Regions from separate parts of the Homo sapiens genome. Here region 2 is linked to region 1. Evidence: promoter capture Hi-C in human tissues and cell types (Jung and others, 2019). All regions are on one chromosome and are shown on one strand. The core of a region is centred on a gene start or on the middle of the fragment in contact, and the rest is flanking DNA. Distances in the headings are between cores, read along the strand shown. Region 1 holds the start of GML (glycosylphosphatidylinositol anchored molecule like). Region 2 has its middle 18 kb from the start of CYP11B1.

What was found. Contacts are between HindIII fragments. The study calls those that stand out against the background at their distance.
Region 2: a contact is called between a fragment that was not itself captured here and the fragment with the promoter of GML in region 1, in 1 of the 25 tissues and cell types used here (lymphoblastoid cells).

The regions. Positions count from the first base shown.
Region 1 is chr8:142,832,907-142,837,009 of GRCh38, forward strand. GML (glycosylphosphatidylinositol anchored molecule like) reads left to right here and starts at 1,895. Exons shown (of 4, transcript NM_002066.3): 1 at 1,895-1,962. The HindIII fragment of the contact is 25,891 bases long and covers 1-3,420 here.
Region 2 is chr8:142,895,786-142,899,888 of GRCh38, forward strand. No RefSeq gene overlaps it. Among named protein-coding and RNA genes, the nearest start is that of CYP11B1, 18 kb to the left of the region's middle. The HindIII fragment of the contact is 4,037 bases long and covers 1-3,887 here.

The DNA of each region.
Region 1 (4,103 bases), core at 645-3,144:
TTTGAAAGGCCCTTGGACAGATGTGGAAGCACCAAGGCCTGCATGAACTGAAATTCCGCAGAGGGCGAGCCCTTCCCAGGGTACCCTTTGTCATTGCAGATACATTTGTCACTTTGGGCACCAGCTGAAAGCCAGGCTGGCTACAGACAGGGACTCCGGTAGGGAATGCAAACCAGAGTGCCGTCTTGGCTCACGGGGAACCAAAGTGGCCCAGAATCTCCAGGTACCTAAAGATCAAGACAGTTTTCCCATGGAAGAGCCTCCAAGTGCTGTGGTGGGAGGGACCCTGGGGAGTCAGAGAAGGCCAAGTAGAATCCCCCCCAGTGTGGCAGATCCCAGGAGACAGAGTGCCCCTAGAAGGAGCCTGCCACAGTCATACCACTGGTCTCCATCATAAGCCAGTGGCCCCGATGGAACAGGTGTGTGGGATGAGGTTCAAGGGGAAAGTCAAAGCCTAGAAAGGGAAACCCGTCCGAGCTGAGGATTCGGTGTGAAAGGTGAGCATACAAATTGGGTCACCCTTGTCACACCCAACTAAGGCAGAGTGCCAGGTAGGGAGACCATTCAGCACTCAGGATAGAAAACATTGCTCCAAGAATGTACTTCTCTGAGGCCTGACTGCTGAAACTGTCTGCGGTAACCTGAAACCAGTTTTATCTGATGGCTACTGAGACCACCTGCTGCAACTCTAAGCCTCGGTTCACCCACTGCCGTCACTGATTCACTCATCAACCAGAGCTTGCCAGCTCCCCAAAATCCTACTAGTGCCAATGAAACTCAGACAGCAATATGTACTATTTCTCTTCTTTATAAAAAAGAGACATAGTTCCTTTTTTTTTGAGACAGAGACTTGATTTGTCCTGCAGGTTGGAGCACAATGGCACGATCTCGGCTCACTACAACCTCCACCTCCTGGGATCAAGGGATTCTCCTGCCTCAGCCTCCTGAGTAGCTGGGACTACAGGCACACACCACCACACCCAGCTAATTTTTGTATTTTTAGTAGAGACGGGGTTTCACCATGTTGATCACTCTGGTCTTGAACTCCTGACCTCAAATGATCTGCCCGCCTCAGCCTCCCAAAATGCTGGGATTACAGGTGTAAGCCACCGCGAATTTAAAAAAGCCTTTTCTTTGTTCTTTGGACATACTGAAGGCCAGCCAGTCTGCCCCCGTGCCCCTAATTGCAGTTATTTCCTCCCAAATAAAACATTTCAATTTCAGAAATTCACCTATTTTATATGACTTCGACAAGAGCCAAGCCACACTGTGTAGGAGATGCTCGGGTGAAGCCAGCTGTCCCTGGCCACACACAGCTTGAAGGCAAAATGGCAGGAGCTCAAGCGAAAGCCAGGCAGGTCTCCCCCTGAAACCTCTGCACAGGTGGGCGCTGGCGGGGCTGAAGGGCAAGGGCACCGCTCAAGCTGGCTTTGGTCAGGGTTAGGGACAGGGCCGGCTCCAGAGGCGACGGGGTCGCACCCTGAGCGGAGGGGCTCCCGGGGTCCCCAGGGGTTATGGTGATGGCGGGACCCCCTAGAGGGAGGGTCCAGGAACGAGGCAGGTGGACTGGGACCTTGAGGGCAGGGTGGGCCTGGGCGGTGCCAACAGGCTGCCGAGGGTGGCTGCTGTCCCGTTTCTCCAGCAGCCAGGGCCGTGCGCTTCTAGAACATTCCCCGTGGCTTTCCTAAAGGGAGCGTGGATGGAGCCAGGGTGTGCAGATTTCTGTGAGAAATATTTTCACCTGGGAGCCCCAAGGGGGACCCTGCCCACCTTTGAACACTGGCAGATGGGCTGGAGGCCTGGAGCCTGGGGACGGGGCTTTGAGGGTCCGGAAGGAGGGCGGGGCTGTGCGGCCGGCGGAGGCCCCCGAAAGTTCCAGAAAGCGGGTGGGGAGGTCGGCGCGGGAGGCTCAGATGGCTGGAGGCGGCGGGCACGCACACTGCGGGGCTCCGAGGGGCACAGGTCAGTTTCCTGAGGCGGGTCGGGACCCAGGCGTGAGACTGGAGTCTGCCCAGGGGCCCAGCTGAGGCAGCCTCCTCGTCAGCTGCTTGGGCCGCCAGGACGCCGCCGGGGGTGCGCCGCGCTTCCCTGGATGGGGTGCCCCCACTCCCCTCGGAGCCCCAGGGAGACCCCCCGAACTCAGCTCCTCTCAGGGGTGCCAGGGGGACCCCTCAAAACTCCACTCCCCGCAGGTTCCTGGGGAGACGCCCCCTGCTCCATTCCCCTCAGGGTCCCAGGGAGACCCCCTAATTCAGCTCCTCTCAGGGGTACTGGGGGACCTCTCGAGCTCCACTCCCATCAGGGTCCCAGGGAGACCCCCCAACTATGCTCAGGGGTCCCAGGGAGATGCCAGCACCCCAACTCCGCTTCCCTGGGGCCCCCCTCCCCTTACAGCTCAACTTCCCTCGAGAGTCTGGGGCTGGGGCTCCGTTCAGTTCTTGAGTCCCCTTCCCTCGGGGTGTCCCGGGGCCGCCCACCCCCACACTGTCTGTGATTCCCCAAGGCGCGGGTCTCGGGCCGCAGCCTGTTCCACGTTCTGCTGCTCGTTCTTTTCTGGCTCCTTGCTTTCGAAGGAGAGAAGGAGGCCTTCGTTTCCAGTCTTTTTGCCTTTTCTAATGGAGCCCTGCTTTTCCTTCCGTGTCCCTTCAGGCTACTTCTGCCAGGTTTCTATTTTTCATTCTTTATTATGACTTTGCCCAAAATATTCTTGACTTCTATTGAGAAGGATTTGGGGGTCTATTTCTTATTTGGAGGTGTGTTCTTAAGTTCCAAACAGATGAGGATTTTCCAGTTAATCCTTCTGGGGTGACTTATTGCTTAATGCCACCATAGTCAGAAAATGGACTCTCAGTGTCCGAAACTGCATTCGGCTCTGAAGTGTCTGTCCTTGTCACCTCTTGCAATGTTTTTTGCCTGGAAGCCTGCACTCGCCGACGCTGACGTAACTGTTTCTGCCTTTCAGTTCTACAGCCTCCTTTGCTTTGTGATATTGTCATATACTTTATTTCTATATATGTTATGAACTCAATATTTCTTGTAGTGGGTCTGCTGATAATAAGATATTCCTACTCTTTTTGTCTGAAGCCATCTTAAGCTTACCCTGTATTTGCCCCATGCATCTCTTCCGTTTCACGGTTCCTGAGTTGTCACCTTTGTGATAAACTGGTAATAGTAAGTAAACTGTTTTCTTGTGCTCTGTAAGCTGTTCTAGCAAATTATCTAGGAGGAGGTGGTCTTGGAAACCCTTGATTTATAACTGGGCAGTCAGAAGTACACGTGGCCCAGACTTGTGATTGGCATCTGAAGTGGGGGCATTAGGGTGGGACTGAGCCCTTCACCTGTGGGGTCTGCCCTGCTCAAGGCAGTGTCAGAATTGAATTGAAATGTTGGACGGTCAGTGTCCAGAGAGTTGGAGAACTGGTTTGTGTGTAAAAACTCACATATTTAGGGTCAGAAGTATGGTGGTGTAGAAATAATTCATACTATAGTCCCTTATTTCTGCCTCTTACACATCCTGTTATTTTTAAAATTTTTTCATCTTTAAAAAATCAATTTAGTAATCTTTTTCTCTTTAATGCTCTCATTAGAATTTTTAAAGTACTTGTATGCTAATGTCAACATTTGAGTGAACTGTGGGTTTATTTCTATTGTTGTTTTATTGATTAGCAATAATTTATTCCTAATTCTTACATATCCTGTGATGTTTTTATTGAACATCTTGCGTTGCGTACAAAATAGCTGGAAAGCTTGGAGGTGGTTGTATGTTACTACTGGGGATGTGTGCCCTCTCCTCTCTCCAGGAGCCTGTGGGAAGGCCTGGACTACTGGCTTGCTCAAAGGTGGAGGCCAAGTGGGATGCTTGCAGCTTCAACCTGACCCTGGCTGCCTCTGGAGCCGGCCCTGTCTCTAACCCTAACTGAAGCCATCTTGAGCGGTGCCCTTCCCCTTCTCCTACAGAGTGTGGCTTGTCTCGTGTTGAAGTCAAATAAAATAGATGACTTTCTGAAATTGAAATCTTTTCTTTCGGAGGAAATAATTGTAATTAGGGGCATGGGGGTAGACGGGCTGGCATTCAGTATGTCCAAAGAACAAAGAGAAGGATT
Region 2 (4,103 bases), core at 619-3,118, 63 kb after region 1:
TTTTAAATCACTAATTCAGTCTCTTACTTGTTATTGGTCTGTTGATGTAGCAGGACAAGCCACAGACAAAACTCCTCAGACACCGAGTTAAAGAAGAAAGAGGTTTATTCGGCCGGGAGCATCGGCAGGACTCCTGTCTCAAGAGCCAAGCTCCCTGAGTGAGCAATTCCTGTCCCTTTTAAGGGCTCACAACTCCAAGGGGGTCTGCGTGAGAGGGTCATGATTGATTGAGTAAACGGGGTAGGTGACAGGGTCTGCATGCACCGGTGGTCAGAGTGAAACAGAACAGACCGGGAAGTTTTACAATGTCTTTCTGTAATCTGTAGATAACAGCAGTTGCTAGGTCAGGGGTCGAATTTTAACTACCAGGCTTAGGTCAGGCCCAGGCTTGGTTTCGGTTCTGGTTTCTTGGATTTGGGTCTGGTTCCTAGGCGCCGGGGCACCTGCCTTTAGTTTGGCTTCTCTTTCCTTTTCAGAGTATAAAACAACATAAAACAATATGAGAAGGTCTGTCTCTCTTCTCTCATTCAGATTTTATATTTCTTCATAATGCAGCCTTGGTAGGTTGTGTGTGTCTAAGAATTTATCCTTTTCTTCTAGGTCATCTAATGTGTTGTTAATCAATAATTCATAGTAGAATCTTATAATGCTTTGTATTTCTGTGGTTTCAGTTACAATGTCTTTTCTTTCATTTCTGATTTTACTTCTGAGCCTTTACTTCTGATTTTACCCCAAGTCTTCTTTTTTTCTTATTTGGTATAGCTAGAGGATTGTTGATTTTGTTTATCTTTTCAAAAAACCAACTCTTAGTTTTGTTGATTTTTTGTATTGCTTTTGGAATCTTTATTTTGTTTACTTCTGCTCTGATCTTATTTCCTTCCCTCTGCTAACATTGGTTTTATTTTTTTCTTTATCTGGTTCCTTTGGGTGTAATGTTACATTGTTTATTTGAGATTTTTCTTCTTTTTTCATGCAGGCATTTGTTGCTGTAAACATCCCTCTTAGAACTGCTTTTACTGCATTACATATATTTTGCTCTACTGTGTTTCCATTTTCAGTTGTCTCAACATATTTTAAATTTTTTATTTAAATTTCTTCTTTGACCCATTGGTTGTTCATGTTGTTTAATTTTTATATATTTGTGAATTTTCTGTAATTCCTGCTGCTATTGATTTCTTAGTTTTATATTGTTGCCAGAAAAGATACTTGATACGATTTTAATTTTCTTAAATTTAAGACTTGTTCTTTCATCTAACATATTATCTATGTGGGAGGATGATCTGTGTGCACTTGAGAAGAAGGTGTACTGCGCTACTGTTGGATCGAATGTTTTGTATATTTCTGTTAGATTCATTTAGTCTAAAATGTATTCAATTCTGATTTATCCTTATTGATTTTATGTCTGGATGATCTGTTTATTGCTAAAAGTGTTGTATTGAAGTCCGGCCTAAGCCTCCCACAGTTCTGGGATTACAGGGGTGAGCCACCATGCCTGGCCTGATTCTATTTTTAAATAGCTTTATTGAGAAGTTATTCACATACCATATAATTCACCTACTGAAAGTATACAATTAAAGGTTGGTAGTATAGTCACAAATATGTACAACTATCACTACATCCAATTTTATTAATTTCTAAAATCGCCAAAGAAATCCAGGACTTCAGCAAAAATGCGGTGGGCAGCTCTAAATGTGTGACCCATCACAGTAACATTCAAAAAACAAGCAAAAACTGCACAAATTAACTTTGTCAGGGCTCTGGAAAATAATTATTTCTGGCCACCACATAAATGCTACATGAAGAAAGTGACAACTCTTACATTGTAGAGAAGCTTTCCTGTATCTTTACTTGCTCTGGCTTTGCCCACCCCAGATCAGTGGCTGTCTTTGAAGATGGCAGCTCAAGCTACCAGTGTGGGATGCTGGGGTCTGGAGACAGAAGGATCAGGGCAGCGCTTATTCCCCAAAATTGTCATTATTTGTTCTAACCTTTCTGTGGACTACCTGAGGAACTGATGCAAGGGCCTTGCCTTTGTTTTGCCTAACTTGGAATGTATTCAAGTGGAAAAGTAGCTATGGAAGACCCGCATCAAAAATATTGTAAGGCAGCTGAGTAACCTGATATCATCAAAGGCAAAAGATTCAACTTGAGGAAAGAAAAAAAAACTTTGTCAAAACACTAGAAGAAAAAGCTTGGAAGAGTGTTTCTTTGAGAAGCTAGAGGATTTGAAATGCCAACCTATGCTGGGAAATCTAGAAAACCACAAGCTCCTAGGGCAGGACAGATGCTAAGACAGTGTCTAATTATAATCCTCCTGGCTGTGTTTACAGGAGTGCCCCGAAAACAGGCCCAAACTGCAAAGACAAAGACAGTGTTGGCTGTGTTTACAGGAGTGCCCCGAAAACAGGCCCAAACTGCAAAGACAAAGACAGTGTTGGCTGTGTTTACAGGAGTGCCCTGGAAACAGGCCCAAACTGCAAAGACAAAGACAGTGTTGGCTGTGTTTACAGGAGTGCCCCGAAAACAGGCCCAAACTGCAAAGACAAAGACAGTGTTGGCTGTGTCTACAGGAGTGCCCCGAAAACAGGCCCAAACTGCAAAGACAAAGACAGTGTTGGCTGTGTCTACAGGAGTGCCCCGAAAACAGGCCCAAACTGCAAAGACAAAGACAGTGTTGGCTGTGTCTACAGGAGTGCCCCGAAAACAGGCCCAAACTGCAAAGACAAAGACAGTGTTGGCTGTGTCTACAGGAGTGCCCCGAAAACAGGCCCAAACTGCAAAGACAAAGACAGTGTTGGCTGTGTTTACAGGAGTGCCCCGAAAACAGGCCCAAACTGCAAAGACAAAGACAGTGTTGGCTGTGTTTACAGGAGTGCCCCGAAAACAGGCCCAAACTGCAAAGACAAAGACAGTGTGATTATTTTTCTTGTCTTTTTATTTTTCCCCTCTTTCTTTTCTTTTCTTTTTTTCTTTCTTTTCTTTTCCTCCTGGTGTTCAAGGAGAAAATCTCTCTCAAATTTGTCAAAACATCAGATTAATGCAAGCTAAAGAAATAGATTCCACTATTGCCTTATAATCCTTTGTATTTCTGTGATACAAATAAACAGTAGAAGACCTAGAGAAAACAAATAGAAAAATTATAGAAGTTGTCTTATTTATCAGTAATTGCTTTACATATAAATGGTTCAAACTCTCCATTGAAAAGGCAGAATGGATAAAAATTGTGATCCACTACATGCGGTCTTCAACAGATTCACATCATATCCAAAGATGCAAATAGGTTGAAAGTGAAAGGTAGAAAAATGGTATTTCATGGGAATAGTAACCAGGGAGCTTGGATGGCTATGCTAATATAAGACAAAATAGTCTTTATGTAAAAAAGTTACAAAAGACAAAGAAGGTCATTATATATTGATAAAAGAGTTGTGGCCGGGCACGGTGGCTCACGCCTGTAATCCCAGCACTTTGGGAGGCCGAGGCGGGTGAATCACGAGGTCAGGAGATCGAGACCATCCTGGCTAACACAGTGAAACCCCGTCTCTACTAAAAATACAAAAAAATTAGCCGGGCGTGGTGGCGGGCACCTGTAGTCCCAGCTACTTGGGAGGCTGAGGCAGGAGAATGGCGTGAACCCGGGAGGCAGAGCTTGCAGTGAGCCGAGATCACGCCACTGCACTCCAGCCTGGGTGACAGAGCGAGACTCCGTCTCAAAAAAAAAAAAAAAAAAAAAAAAGAGTTCTGATGGTTAATTTTATATGTCATTAACTAAGCTATGGTATAGTTTTTGGTCAAACACTAGTCTGGATTTTGGTGGAAAGGCATTTTTAGGTTTTACCATCATTTAAAGAAGTAGGTTTTGAGTAAAGCAGATTATCCTCCAAGTATCCTCCTGCAGGATCCATCCTGTGGTTATCGCCACAATTCAAGCAGAATTGGAATATTCATAGTCAACAACTGGCAGAATCCCCACACTCGTTCCCTCTTCTATGCAGTGAGAGATATTATAGTGGAAAAGACCAAGTAGAAGCCATTAGAACTGTGTCTACCAAGAAAAATAGCCAAAAGCGTAACATTCCTAGACGGATGGCAGAGATTAGAGCTAC